Linked DNA regions of Homo sapiens: all the other regions are linked to region 3. The links are contacts of gene promoters, found by promoter capture Hi-C in blood cells and fetal thymus (Javierre and others, 2016). All regions are on one chromosome and are shown on one strand. Each heading gives the region's core, a stretch centred on a gene start or on the middle of the fragment in contact. The rest is flanking DNA. Distances are from core to core; before and after follow the strand shown.

Region 1 (4,436 bases), core at 239-2,738, 300 kb before region 3:
GTCTCTTGGTTTGGTATCATACTGCTACGAGGTGAGTGAATTTTCCCTTGTCCACACCCTCTTGAAGCAGATAAATGGCTTGTGTCCCACTATTATTTTAATATTTTATGTTCTTCACATCCTTCCTTAATTTCTGCGTCTCTCCAACATTTGCACTATTAATCTGTGTGGTCTCGATGAATTTGTTGAGAGGGGCAGGTGTGTTGCAAAACATACAGAGTTCTGCTTTTCCTTCTGACTGTTGAGTTGACTTTCAAAAAAAATAAGCTAAGGGCAGAGTGGGTTTTATGTTTCTGTAGAAGCTTTTGTTCTCTGACTCTGGTAAGAGGTGATGTGGGAGAAGATGGTAACGAGAACTGATAGACTACTGGGGAGTTATTAAAGATCCCAGGCCAATTTGGGGATGAATGGAAAATTTTTGAGAGAAATTAACTTTCAAAACCACTTATAAGACTGATTTCATTCACTCCTAAGATATGTATCTTGTGTTTACATGAGGTAATAGACAAAAGGAAAGAAGGCTTAATAGAGAAGCTGAGCTTTGAGCTGGAGTTGGAAGAATGAGTTCAATTTCCATAGCTGGTGAAGAGAATTACAGCCAGAAGGAAGAGCTGGCCTAGAGGCATGGAGGCACCAATGTTTTGGGCACATCAAGAAATATGAAGAGGGAAATGCACCAAGTATTTATGAAATCCAAAGGCTTCTGTCCTTGGCCAAAGTATAGCCCATATGGAAAAACAGTTGTCTGGATGACATTTTTGCTCACTGTACAGCCCTTCCCAATTCAGTCTAAATAATTAAAAAGTCCCTTCATTCTGCCAGCCCTTGATCTCTCACCTCACAAAACTATTTATGTGCATGATCACACACACACACACACACACGCACGCACACCCGCATACATATTGCCCTGTTCTATTTACCTGCCCGGCATACAAAGTTCTGTCATTGTCGTAAATAAAGAGATATGTTTATTGAAGACAAAGCTCAGCTAGCATCTCTTATCCAACTGTAAACTCCACAATCATAAGCAATTGTAAGCACAAGCATATACTTAATAAATATTTGGTGAGTTGAAGTGAATGAGATCAGCCAGCAGGATAAGACATTGTATATGCAAAGCTTTCCCTTGGGATTCTTAGGTTTGTATTCTTGACTTTTCCCCCAAATATACAGAAGACTGATGGGAAGACAGTGTCATCCTTTGTTTCCGTTCAAGAGCAAAGGAAGGAAAATAGCACATGTTGAGTGTCTACTAAATATGTTATTCACACTTATTTCATTTTATTTACCTAAAAATTTCCCTATATTATCAAGAGGTTGGAGGCTCCAAAGGCCAGAGGGACTCTAAGAGGAACACAGCTGGCCTGCAGCAGAAACGGGGTTGACACTCACATCTGCATGATTCCAAGGGCCCCTGCTGCCCCAGGCTCTGCTCCTTCCTCCAATGCTTCCTGGGAATCTGGGTAGTCTTTCATTTTACTAAAATGAAATTCCTAAAGTTCTCCTTTAAAATGAAAGTTTTTTATCTCCATTCACAAAAAGAAAAAAAAAAAGAAAGAAAACATCCTCTGACCAATGGAAAAAATAATCCATTGCTTTGCTTGCTGGCAAAGGGCCCAATCGTGTGGGCCAGGCTGTGAAAGAGAGGGAGAAAGATTCTCATGGAAAGCAACCACTCCACCCACTCATATTTGTGTTTTTCTGAGGTTAGCCCAGGGCCCCCACCACTGACCAGCACATCACTTTGGTGACTGTTCCCACCATCAGCACCCAGATAGCACAGAGGGCTGAGGCATTCGAATCTTATCACCCCTATTAAAAGATAAAACCTAAAATTCAACCCTTATCAATATAAGCTTCATGCACTCCATTCAGCGCTTACAAGGAAAGCATACAATATGTTTCTGATTGTGGCTCAAGTCAGACCCAGGCAGCCTTTGCCTTGCCAGTGCGGCCTTGAAAAAGGTAATTAAAAACAGAGTAGTCTGCTTTGTTTTGATATTGGCCAGACCTTCTCTTTAGGAAATATATGGTAATAAAATGGATGAAATGAGGGGTAAAAAGAATGAAATCAACATCCTTTAGCAAAGTCACCCAAATGCTTTGTGAAGATCCATGTTTCTTCCTCGTGGGCTGTTCACAGTTAATTTGTGATCCCATCTTCATCTCACTCATCCGCCCATTCACTCATTCAATGTGTGTGAATGCCCTCCATAAATTTGTACTGTGCTAGTCACTGAAGTACAGAGCTGAATAAAACAAGACTGCTTCTCTCAAGGAGAGGAGAGGATAAAGGATATAAACAAATAATTATTTTGGAAAGGATCTTAGTCTACCTCTCCAGCTTTTACTAACACCATGATGAACTCTGCCCCCCACTACAGTTTCACGCTGCGTTTCACACTATGTTCTGCAAGCACCTGATGACTTGAAGCCTCACAAAGGCATCATCCTTTGCCTTCAAGATGTGGCCTCTGTTTCTCCTTTCACTACTGGTGTGCTACCCTGCCCTCTCTTCCCAGTTAATTCTTACTCATCCTTCTAGGCTCAGCTCAGGTGTCAGTTTATCCAAAAGGTAACAATGATGTCTCCTCCCCATAGGTTATGTGTCCCTCCCATCAGCTCCCAAAGAATGTCTCAGATTTTCCCAACACACCCTTCACACACTTAACATTGTAATTATCTGGATATTTTTCTTTCTCGTTTACTATATTGAGAAGGCTAAGAGGGAATGGAGTCACGTTACAATTGTTTTGGAGCCTAGCTCAATGCACAACGTACAAGTGCTCAAGAAATGTGGAAAGAAGAAATTAACTGTTTTTGTATAAAGGAGGGAGAGGTCAATTCTGGAGTAGGGAATCAGAGAGGGCTTCACAGAAACTATTGAATTGAATCTTGAAGAATTAACGTAAATTCACCAGATGGACAAGTTTCAGAAAAAAACTTTCCAGGAAAAACAAACAGTACATACAAAACCAAAAAGAAAGAAAACAAACATTCAAAGAAATGTAAGTATTTAACATGTCTGGGGTATAAATTGCGATGATTAAAATTTGGCTATGATTAAGAAGTTCACCCTCACCAATGTGAATGGGCATCATCCAATCCACTGAAGGTCCAAGTAGAACAAAGAGACAGAGGGAGGGTAAATTCTTTCTCTTTTTTAGAGCTAGGACATCCAACTCTTCCTACCCTAGGATATCAGAGCTTCAGGTTCCTGGGCCTTTAGAATCCAGGACTTAACACTGGTGCCCACCCCCCTTCCAGCACTACTTCTACCCCCAGCCTCATTGCCACCCTGGGTTCTCAGGTCTTTGGACTCAGTCTAAATTACACCACTGGCTTTCCTCATTCTCAAGTTTGCAGATGAAATATCATGGGACTTCCTGGCTTCCATAATCACATGAGACAATTGCCCTAATAAATCACCTCTTATATATTTATATATAGCCCCTTGGTTCTGTTTCTCTGCAGAACACTGACTAATACATAGATTATCAAGTGGTAAAGTAGCAAGAGATGAGGTTGGAGAAATACACATGGAGTAAACCATGGAAGGGGTAATACATTTGCATCGTATCCTATAGGCGTGTAATAGAGAATATAATCCTTACCGTTTCCCTCGCCAGCATATGCACAAGAGATAATTCTAATAGTGTGCTAACACAACACAACATGAAAAGCAAATCTACTGTACAGAAAATAATCTATATTTTGAAACTAAATAGGTACAACTTTGAAGTATTCACTAGTTTTGATGATCTACTCAATTTCAGCAACACAGGGGATAATGGGACTTATTTAGGGAAAAAAAAATTGTTTAAGCTCCACCTGAATTAGGTCGTCAGACCCTGAGGTCCAGGCATGCATGTTTTGAAAAAAATCTTCACAAGTAATTTCAGTATGCACACACACACACTAACACACACACACACACACACACACACTACTCAAACAAACTGGGCTTAGGGGAACACATGCTCTCTAAATCCATTGTCCTGTCATTTGTCTTCACTGATGTGTTAGTTCTTTAAAATGCCTGGTTTCGAACTTTGCAAAATGATGCATTTTTCCCTGGCTTACTCTTCGTTCTCAAACTAGGTTTTAACACAACCCATTTGATATAGAAAGAAGCTGTCTGAGACAGACTGCCAAGGTCAGAGCAAACAAATGTAATCCTGAGAACCGAAAGATGGATGCATGTTCAAGGGAGATGTGATTCTCCTTCTCTTGTTTGTGAAGAGCCATTAGACAAATAAACCGTTGGGACAAGTCTAGAGGTGTTGGACCAGGCGCACTCTGCTAGTGTGATGATCAATGACGGACACCAGCCAGCTGTCAGCAGAGGCTGCAGACCAGAGGGAAGGGCTGATCCTCACTCCTTCCTCAGCAGGGACCACCAGCCTCTTGCATAGTCAGGGACTCAGCAAATC
Region 2 (4,242 bases), core at 1,502-4,001, 260 kb before region 3:
TGAGAAGGCTCGGGCCCTAATGAGCAGTTTCTCACTATACCTGCAATTCATCTCCTTCCCCCACCACCAGCTCTCTCAAGTGTCACTTTTCAAGGGTCTTCCTGGTCCTGCCACATGGGCATCAACTTTGTTGGGTGATTTGTTTCTGGTTTTAGCCAAAATAAATGAATGCTAGGTGCTCTGACCATAGACACATGTTAGACAATCTCCTGCCCTCAGGGTGCTCACCAGCCGGAATGAATAAGCAGGTGCAAGCGTCTGCCCCCTGACAGAGGCAAGGACTGGACCCTGAAAACCCACAGGAGGGGCAGCAAACCCAGCCTTGGCTCAAGGAGGCACTGGAGGGTCAAAGGAAAGCTCAGCTGAGTTGTAAAGATGTTAATCAATTGAAAATGGATAGAAGTCACTTTGGAGGTATTAACCTAGCAGGCTTCAAGAGAGTTGTATATTTATTCAGTGTAACACAAGGGTTGAGAGCAACATCCCCAAAGCTAGGCTGCATGAGCTTGACACCCAGCTCTGCCACTTATTTTGGTATCACCTCAAGCAAAGTACTTCAGCTCTGTGCCTCAGTTTCCTAATTTGCAAAGGGAGGATATGAATGCTTATCCCATAGGATTGTTACAAAGAGCATGTGAAATAATACTTGTAAAGAACTTAGAATAGTATCTGGCACATAGTAAGTACTATATGTGTTTTTCAGAAAACATGAAAAATGAAAGAAGTATTTTGAGCCCACAATATATCAGGCAATATGCTAGGCCATGTGGATACTCAATTGAAAGCCATCATTACTCTTTTTGAAGAGGTCATGACCAAGTGTGATTGAATTATCAATGAATTATGATGCAACATCTTAGATGGTAAGATTAAAGATTAGAGACACCCCCTCCTTTCCACTTGTAGATGCCCAATCCTAAAATCTAGGAGCAAGCATGGGCCTTCCCAGCTCCCCTATCTCCCACATTTAGTCACTGTATCCCAGCCTCTACCTCTCCAAGATCTCCTGAGCCCCTTCCTTTTGCTCCTCTCCTGTTGTCACTGCTTGCTCGGGTCCCTTGTCAGCTCCCACATGGACTGGTGCACAACCCATCTCTAGCCCCCAGCTCTCTCTCACCCCCGCTGAGTCAGGTTCTCACTGCTGTTCACATCATATTTTTGACGCCCAAATTTTCTCATAGCATTCCTCAATTTAAGATTCTTTTGTGGTCCCCCATTGGCTATTGAAAAGTAACGGAATTCCTTAATGTGACAGATCCCTTTGTGAATCGATTCTTATTTTCCTATCCAGTCCCAGCTCTGGACACCCTCAGTGCCTCCACCCAGTGGATGTATTCTTCCGTGAAACCACTGTGCTCCTGCTGTGGACACGTTGTCTCCCATAACAGGAACAGTGTCTCTGTCCTGTCCACCAAACACTCCGACTTTTTCCCTAAGAATTTTCACATTGCTTCGTCTGTGACAACGTCTGTGATTCCTTTGGGTCCCCCTTTCTCAAGTTCCTTGTGCTCTGCACCTGTCTACATGAATGATGGGGAGGGTTGGAAGGAGCAGAACATATTAATAGCACTCTCCTTTTCTACCCAAGCTCTGCAAAAATTAAGAAATAAAAATAAAAACAAAAAACAGCATATGAGACAGGATACCAAAATATGACCCTTATTACTGATGAAGCTGATGTAACAGCGATGAGTTTACACCTAAGGGCAATTGGACAAGGGAGCTTCCTAATGATATTTCCAGATTAGGCTAACTTACACTCCCAAATGCAGGCTCAGATGAACAGGTCACCTTTCCCCACTCGGGGGCCTATACCAGTATGAGAATTATGGCATGGCCTAACAAAAACAAATATAAATCCCTCACGGGCAGGACTAATTTCTTCTTTCAAAACCCACCCATTAAACATAGTATTCCTGGGAGGGGAGCAAGCAAGGAGCAGAGAAAAGCTGGGAGTGTCACACTAATGGAGCTCCTTCCACATTAAAGGAAACACCAGGAGTAAAGAAGAAAAGTGCCAACATGTTATATAGTATTTTCATTTTTGTGTCTCTTGATGAAACTAAAAGCTATTTGTAGGCGAGAATAATGCTTTTTCATCTAATATTTTCATCCTATACAAGTCAACTACTTATACTTGACACAAAGTACGTGTTCAACCTATTTGTTAAATACTAAAGAGTGAGGAGTCAAAGTGTGATGGGTTCACATAGAAAGGAACTGCTGTACCAGTAGAAGTGGAAGAGGAGGAAAGATTTGACGAAAGCCTGCGTAGAAGAAGAGGTATTTGATCCAGATGTTGGGGAAGCAGTAGACTCTTGCCACATGACCCTTAGTACACAGAAGAAATCGACTCTTGCTACACAGAAAAGACAAAGGCAACAATAGTTGCTTAAGCCCAGAGGCATGAAATTGTACAGCAAACCCTGGGTGAAAAAATTCTGCATGAAAAAAGTATAGAATATGAGAGATGAGGCAGGAAAAGCTTGATGTACTTCTTTACCTTGGAATACTTAATAGGGATGCCTGAAAATGTAAAAGTCAAAAGAGTGACTGTCTCCTTGAGTTTCATTGTTTTCTTTGAGCTTAATTTTGGTTGTTAATGTAGTAAGAGTAATATTTTAAACTGTGGGGAAGCCTCTTCTAGACCTGTCTGCTTACCATTCCTGATCCTAATTCAACTCATATTAAGATCCTTTCACAACTGGGAACACCCAGAGTGCTAATGTCCCTCCAGCAGCATGAAACAACAGGGAGGTGAAGGCCATAAACCTTTGCAGCAGACGAGTCACAAGCTACGTGTCCATGTGAAGAAAATGTGGGTCTGCAAAGGCTGCTGGTCGCTGGTGGTGTGATTTTCTGTCTAAACCAAAGACAGGAAGATAGAATGATGTATCCTTTTCCATTTGTATTATTTTCACTTTCAAAAAAAATTATCTTGTTATTTTTTAAAAATATTGTTATCATTTTTATTATTTTTTCATCAAATAATTATATAAAAATTTCCAGCATAAAATTAAGCTTTATTTACTCAGGAAATCTATATTTGAACTGAAAGCTCATCAAAAAGATACTGAATATTTCCCAAATTCTGGTAACTGATAACATTTGAATTTCTTTCTCTGATGTTTCAATGATTCAGCTAATGGCCTCCTATGGAGTTTTCCTCTCAGACCCTCTGTTTTGGAAACAACACATCCCACCTATAGGGACCAACAGCCATTCATATTTCTGCTATGTGACCCTCACCCTTGGCCATACCTAACTGATCTAGAAATAGGTACATGACCCACTCAGAGAATTTGGAATTGGGGCTAAAAGAGTCAGTTATCGAATATGACTCAAATGTAAAATCTAAACTTGGGATCTGAGGATCTAACATTTGTTGCTTGCCTGTAGACTGAATTACAGAGAGAGGTGGCAGGCAAAAAAGAAACAAAGACACCCGGCCGGGCACGGTGGCTCACGCCTGTAATCCCAGCACTTTGGGAGACCGAGGCGGGCAGATCACGAGGTCAGGAGATGGAGACCATCCTGGCTAACACGGTGAAACCCCATCTCTACTAAAAATACAAAAACTTAGCCGGGCGTGGTGGCGGGCACCTGTAGTCCCAGCTACTCGGGAGGCTGAGGCAGGAGAATGCTGTGAACCCGGGAGGCAGAGCTTGCAGTGAGCCAAGATCGCACCACTGCACTCCAGCCTGGGCGACAGAGCAAGACTCCATTTCAAAAAAATAAAAATAAAGAAAAAAAAAGAAACAAAGACACCTATGTATATGACCAAAAAATCTTGGTAAGAGATTGGATATAGCCAAGGAGGGAAAAGGAGAAGTCGAAGTCGATGTCTCAGTTTCTGACCATAAATATTAAAAGAATGTGTTATTAATGACATAAGAGAAGAGCAGTTAGATTTTGAAGATCATTATTACAAAAGTGCTAAATGAAATTATGAGAGCTGGTAAACCTCTTGGGAGAGTGGCTGGGGCTGAGGGATGAGCCTAGCTCCTTTGAGGCTGCCCAAAAGTAGGGGCAAAAGGGAAGGAGATGTTAAGAAAGGAGTTTAGGCAGGAGTTTAAGATGTAGAAGAGATGTTTTGCCTTAGGAAAAAGACATAACATTAGATTCTCCCTCTCTAATATATTATTTACCTTCATTGATGATTACAGTTGAAAGACTTGAATGTAATAGAGCAGACTGGAGAGATGTTATAGAACAGACTGGAGAGATGTTATAGAACAGACT
Region 3 (3,824 bases), core at 546-3,045:
TTTAATTGAACTCCAGAACTGGTGGCCCCAGGCAAAGGGGGGGACTGACCCCGCTAGCGGTAACCAGATGTGGCGGTCCCAGGGGAGCCCCGGAGCAGACCCCTGGATTGAGAAGCAGACAGGAGCGGGGGGAGTCAGCCCGGCCCCCATCCCACCATCCACCCCACCCCCACCCCCAACACGCACACCAAGTCTCAATTGCTGGCAGGCTGCACCCGCCACTCCAGGTCTGGTCACGTTCAGACCCGTGTCTGTATTCGAACCCAAAATTGGAGCCGAATTGATGAGACTAATTTCTAGAGAGGGAGGGGGAGGGAGGGAGACGAGTGAGCTCTCGGGCTCAATTGCTCCTGAAGAAATAAAGAATTAATAAGTCACCTTTTTTCGCCTCTGTGGACACCCTTTTGAAATTTTTTCTTCCAATTGACTTGGATCTCCTCTGGATTTTTTTTCCCTCTTTCCCCCGTCGGACTCTTAAATAAAAGTGAGCAAGTCCAAAGCGTGGTCCGGAGAGCGTGGACAAGGTAACCTGTTTTGGATGTCCGGGAGAAGGGAGTCCGGCCGAAAGGGCCCAGCCCCTCGAGGCTGCTCCAACTGGGGCGCGCGGCGGCCCAGGAGGGAGGCGGGGAGGTCTCCGGGTTGGGCCGGGGAACGCCGGCCTCCAGGCTGGGTAGGGAGGACGGTCCAGAGCGCGGGCCTCCGGGTCTCACCCCGGGAAAAGTCTGGGTCTGCTCTGCGCTGTTGCGTGCTGCGCTCCTGGGACCTGCTGACTGTCCTAGAGGGAACGTCCCGCGGTAGTGTCAGTTCCCTGGGGACCAGGAAGGGCGACTCTTGCCTGGGAGTCAGTGCTTGGGCCGTCGGGTCCGGGTAAGCGCTGGGGGTTTGGCTCGAGAAGATGCGGATAGGTGGCCTAGGGCGCCGCGGATCTCCGCCCTCTGCGGGCACCGGGAGCCCAGGGTCGAGGCGCGCCGCCCCGAGGGGCCCCTTCTCCTAACAATGCGCCCGGAATGGAGTCCGCGCCCTGACAGCGCGGGTCAGCCCGAAACCGCCCAGAATCCGCTTCGATGAGTGGGTGAGCCGCTCTGGGAGTCTGCCGCGTCTCGGCAGCGGAGGGCCTGAGTGGAAAAATTCTTATTGGATGCACTTTTTAATGGTTGGTTTGCCTCGGTTTTCGTCCGAGTCTTCCCCGGCAGTAGGCGCTGGGTTACCCGCAGCCCTAGCCAACTCTCCCTCCATACCCCCCCTACCCCACCCCCAAAAAGTTTGTCTCCGGCTGGAAAAAGCATTAATGAACGTATCTGTGGGAAGAAACGGAAAGTGAATGAGTCAGGAGGGCCACCTTCGGCCAACCGCCTCAGGAAAAGCAAAGAAGCCAAAGGTCTTTGGCTTTGGATTTTGGGGGAAGGTGATGGGGGGAGGTTCAGACTTCGGGAATCAGGGCGCGGACGCTGGGCGTGGACCCCGTCATTGTTCCCGGCTAGCTCTTATCTCCCAGGAGCAAGTATCCTGTGTGCGCAGCGCATGAATGTGTCTGGGCATCTCCGCGTATATTTATATAGTGTGTGATGCGAAAAGCAGGACCAGCAGGGGAGGAAGAGGGGGTGTGGGGGGGGAGGGAAGACGAGGGAGAGCAGAGGGGAGAGAAGAGAGAGGAGAGCTCGAGGCGAGAGAGAGAGAGAGAGAGAGAGAGAGAGAGAGAGAGAGAGAGAGAGAGAGATAGGACTTCCTCCCCGATTCGCAAAGTGAAGTCACTTCCCAAAATTAGCTGAAAAAAAAGTTTCATCCGGTTAACTGTCTCTTTCGCTCCGCTACAACAACAAACGTGCACAGGGGAGTGAGGGCAGGGCGCTCGCAGGGGGCACGCAGGGAGGGCCCAGGGCGCCAGGGAGGCCGCGCCGGGCTAATCCGAAGGGGCTGCGAGGTCAGGCTGTAACCGGGTCAATGTGTGGAATATTGGGGGGCTCGGCTGCAGACTTGGCCAAATGGACGGGACTATTAAGGTAAGCGGCGGGGCAACGGACGCGGGCGGCGGGGACCGGCCGGGGAGGCGAAGCGGCGGGCGGGTAGGTGCGGGGCCCGCGTCCCGGAAGACGTGGCCTCTCTCCCTTCCCTCCGCGCCCCGGCTTCGCGCCGGCTCCTCCGGCGCTCGGGTGGCGAGTCCTACTCGCGGGCCAGCCGGCCAGGCGCCCGCATTGAGGGCGACCCTCCCCCGAAATCCCAGCCCCCAAAGTGGAGCCCCGGCCCCCCTCCCACCTCGCTGCCCGCCGGGGCTGCAGGAGGGGACGGCGGGAAACCGGGGGACCCCAGGGTACGGAACGGAGTCAAGGGCGAGAGACCTCGGGGTCCACCACTCCCACCGACACCCGGGGCTCCCGTGGCCCCAGCGCTAGGCACTGGGCTTCCTCTCCGCAGAGGCGGAACACGGCGGGGGCGGGGGCTGCAGTCGCCCGGGCTCGGGTCCCTGCCTGGTGGGCCCTGGGGTGGGTAAGTGGCCTCGTTGCACGAGGGTAGGGGTGCAAGTGAGTGTGTCGGGGGATCTATCTGAGCGGGCTCCTCCAGATGGAAGCCCCTGTTTACATGTCAGCGCTTTCCCTTCCTCTCGGCACTCAGTCGCCCGGCTCTAGGCGCTGGAGAGCCGCCGGCTCCGCGGGACTCCTGGGCCGGCCTCGCCGCCTCTCCGGCGGGGAACCTTCCCCAGCCCCCGTCCGCACAGATCCCTAGCGCCCCGAGCCCCCGCCCTTCGCGCCTAGGCGTGCGCCGGCTCCAGGACCAGGGCTCCTGGAGCTGTCGCCTCCGAAAGGGTCCTGCGTCCTTCGGAGCCGCCTCCGTTGCAGGGGCCGGCTGTGAGCCCGCGCCCCGCGCCCGCCCGGCCATTCCCACCCCAGCCGCCGCCGCCAAGCCTGGGTCTAGGTTGCAAAGTGCAACCCAGGCGGAAAGGTGAGGGTTTGGGTTCGCGTCTCACTTCAGAAAAGTTGACTGCTGTCTCTGAAAGGGTTCGCCAAGTAGGGCCAGGAGCAGAGAGGAGGGACACCCCCTAACGTGACGGGCCTTAGAGGACCTAGGGGAATGAATGGGACCAGGGGTTAGCTTCGAGGCTGCCGCGCAACACCAAGCGGGAGTCTGTCTGGAAAAACTATTAGGCTGGCGAGGTGGGGACTGGCAGAGCCCGCCATTCCCCAGAACCCGAAAGAATCGACTCCCTGCTCAGGGCTCAGCAAGAGAAGGCTAAGATGTTGGGCTCAGAGAATTCAAGAGATTTTTATCTTCTGGGTGGGGTCGTGGTTTTTATTTTCTAAGTTTTTTTTATGAAAGTTTGAAATATGCTGACTTAGGTAAAAGACACCAACCGAAGGAACTTGCAAATCTGGAGATGAGATAACTGACTGTGATGGGTTAAAGGGAGCTATAAGAGCCTATAAGAGCCTGGGTTCCTCAAACCCAAAGTGAGTAGGTGAGAAGTAGGTGAGAGGGGATTCCTGCAAAGACCCGAGAGTGGGGGTCATTGGGCCATTTTATGCCTGTTTCTCTGCTTCCTGTTGATGTGTTCATGCAAGTGTCTCTGTATTTCTGGGTTTAGTAATGAGATGCTCCCCTCTAGAAAACTCCCTCGCCCCAATCAGGACAGTTACCACTTACTCTGAAGGCCTCTTCTGATCCAGAAGGGTGGTAAGATGGCCTCAGGGTCTTGATGTGGACACCCTAAGGAAAAGTGAAGAAATATCTCCACACTGCTTAAACTCTACGCACAGGCCCTGAGCAAAAGGAGGAAGCTGTGGTCTGTGTACCCAGGATGTGCTAACCTCTTTAGATACACACAGGGATTG

Evidence for each region. The method cuts DNA at HindIII sites, captures the fragments that hold promoters and counts their contacts. A CHiCAGO score of 5 or more calls a contact.
Region 1: a fragment that was not itself captured here is called in contact with the fragment with the promoter of FLI1 in region 3 in 1 of 17 cell types (activated CD4 T cells); the score reaches 5.3 in activated CD4 T cells.
Region 2: a contact is called between a fragment that was not itself captured here and the fragment with the promoter of FLI1 in region 3, in 4 of 17 cell types (total CD8 T cells, activated CD4 T cells, naive B cells and 1 more). The highest score is 5.9, in total CD8 T cells.

Annotation. Positions count from the first base shown.
Region 1 is chr11:128,392,970-128,397,405 of GRCh38, forward strand. No RefSeq gene overlaps it. Among named protein-coding and RNA genes, the nearest start is that of MIR6090, 130 kb to the right of the region's middle. The HindIII fragment of the contact is 737 bases long and covers 1,121-1,857 here.
Region 2 is chr11:128,432,285-128,436,526 of GRCh38, forward strand. The region is part of intron 1 of LOC124902789 (a long non-coding RNA gene); the gene reads left to right. Among named protein-coding and RNA genes, the nearest start is that of MIR6090, 88 kb to the right of the region's middle. The HindIII fragment of the contact is 536 bases long and covers 2,484-3,019 here.
Region 3 is chr11:128,692,277-128,696,100 of GRCh38, forward strand. It overlaps FLI1 (Fli-1 proto-oncogene, ETS transcription factor), which reads left to right and starts at 1,796. Exons shown (of 9, transcript NM_002017.5): 1 at 1,796-2,000. The coding sequence starts at 1,983. SENCR (smooth muscle and endothelial cell enriched migration/differentiation-associated lncRNA) reads right to left here and starts at 3,747. Exons shown (of 3, transcript NR_038908.1): 1 at 3,637-3,747; 2 at 379-1,115. RefSeq lists silencers at 855-904, 925-1,064, 1,748-2,117, 2,338-2,387, 2,428-2,647 and 1 more and a cis regulatory region at 1,284-2,016. The HindIII fragment of the contact is 9,137 bases long and covers 1-3,824 here.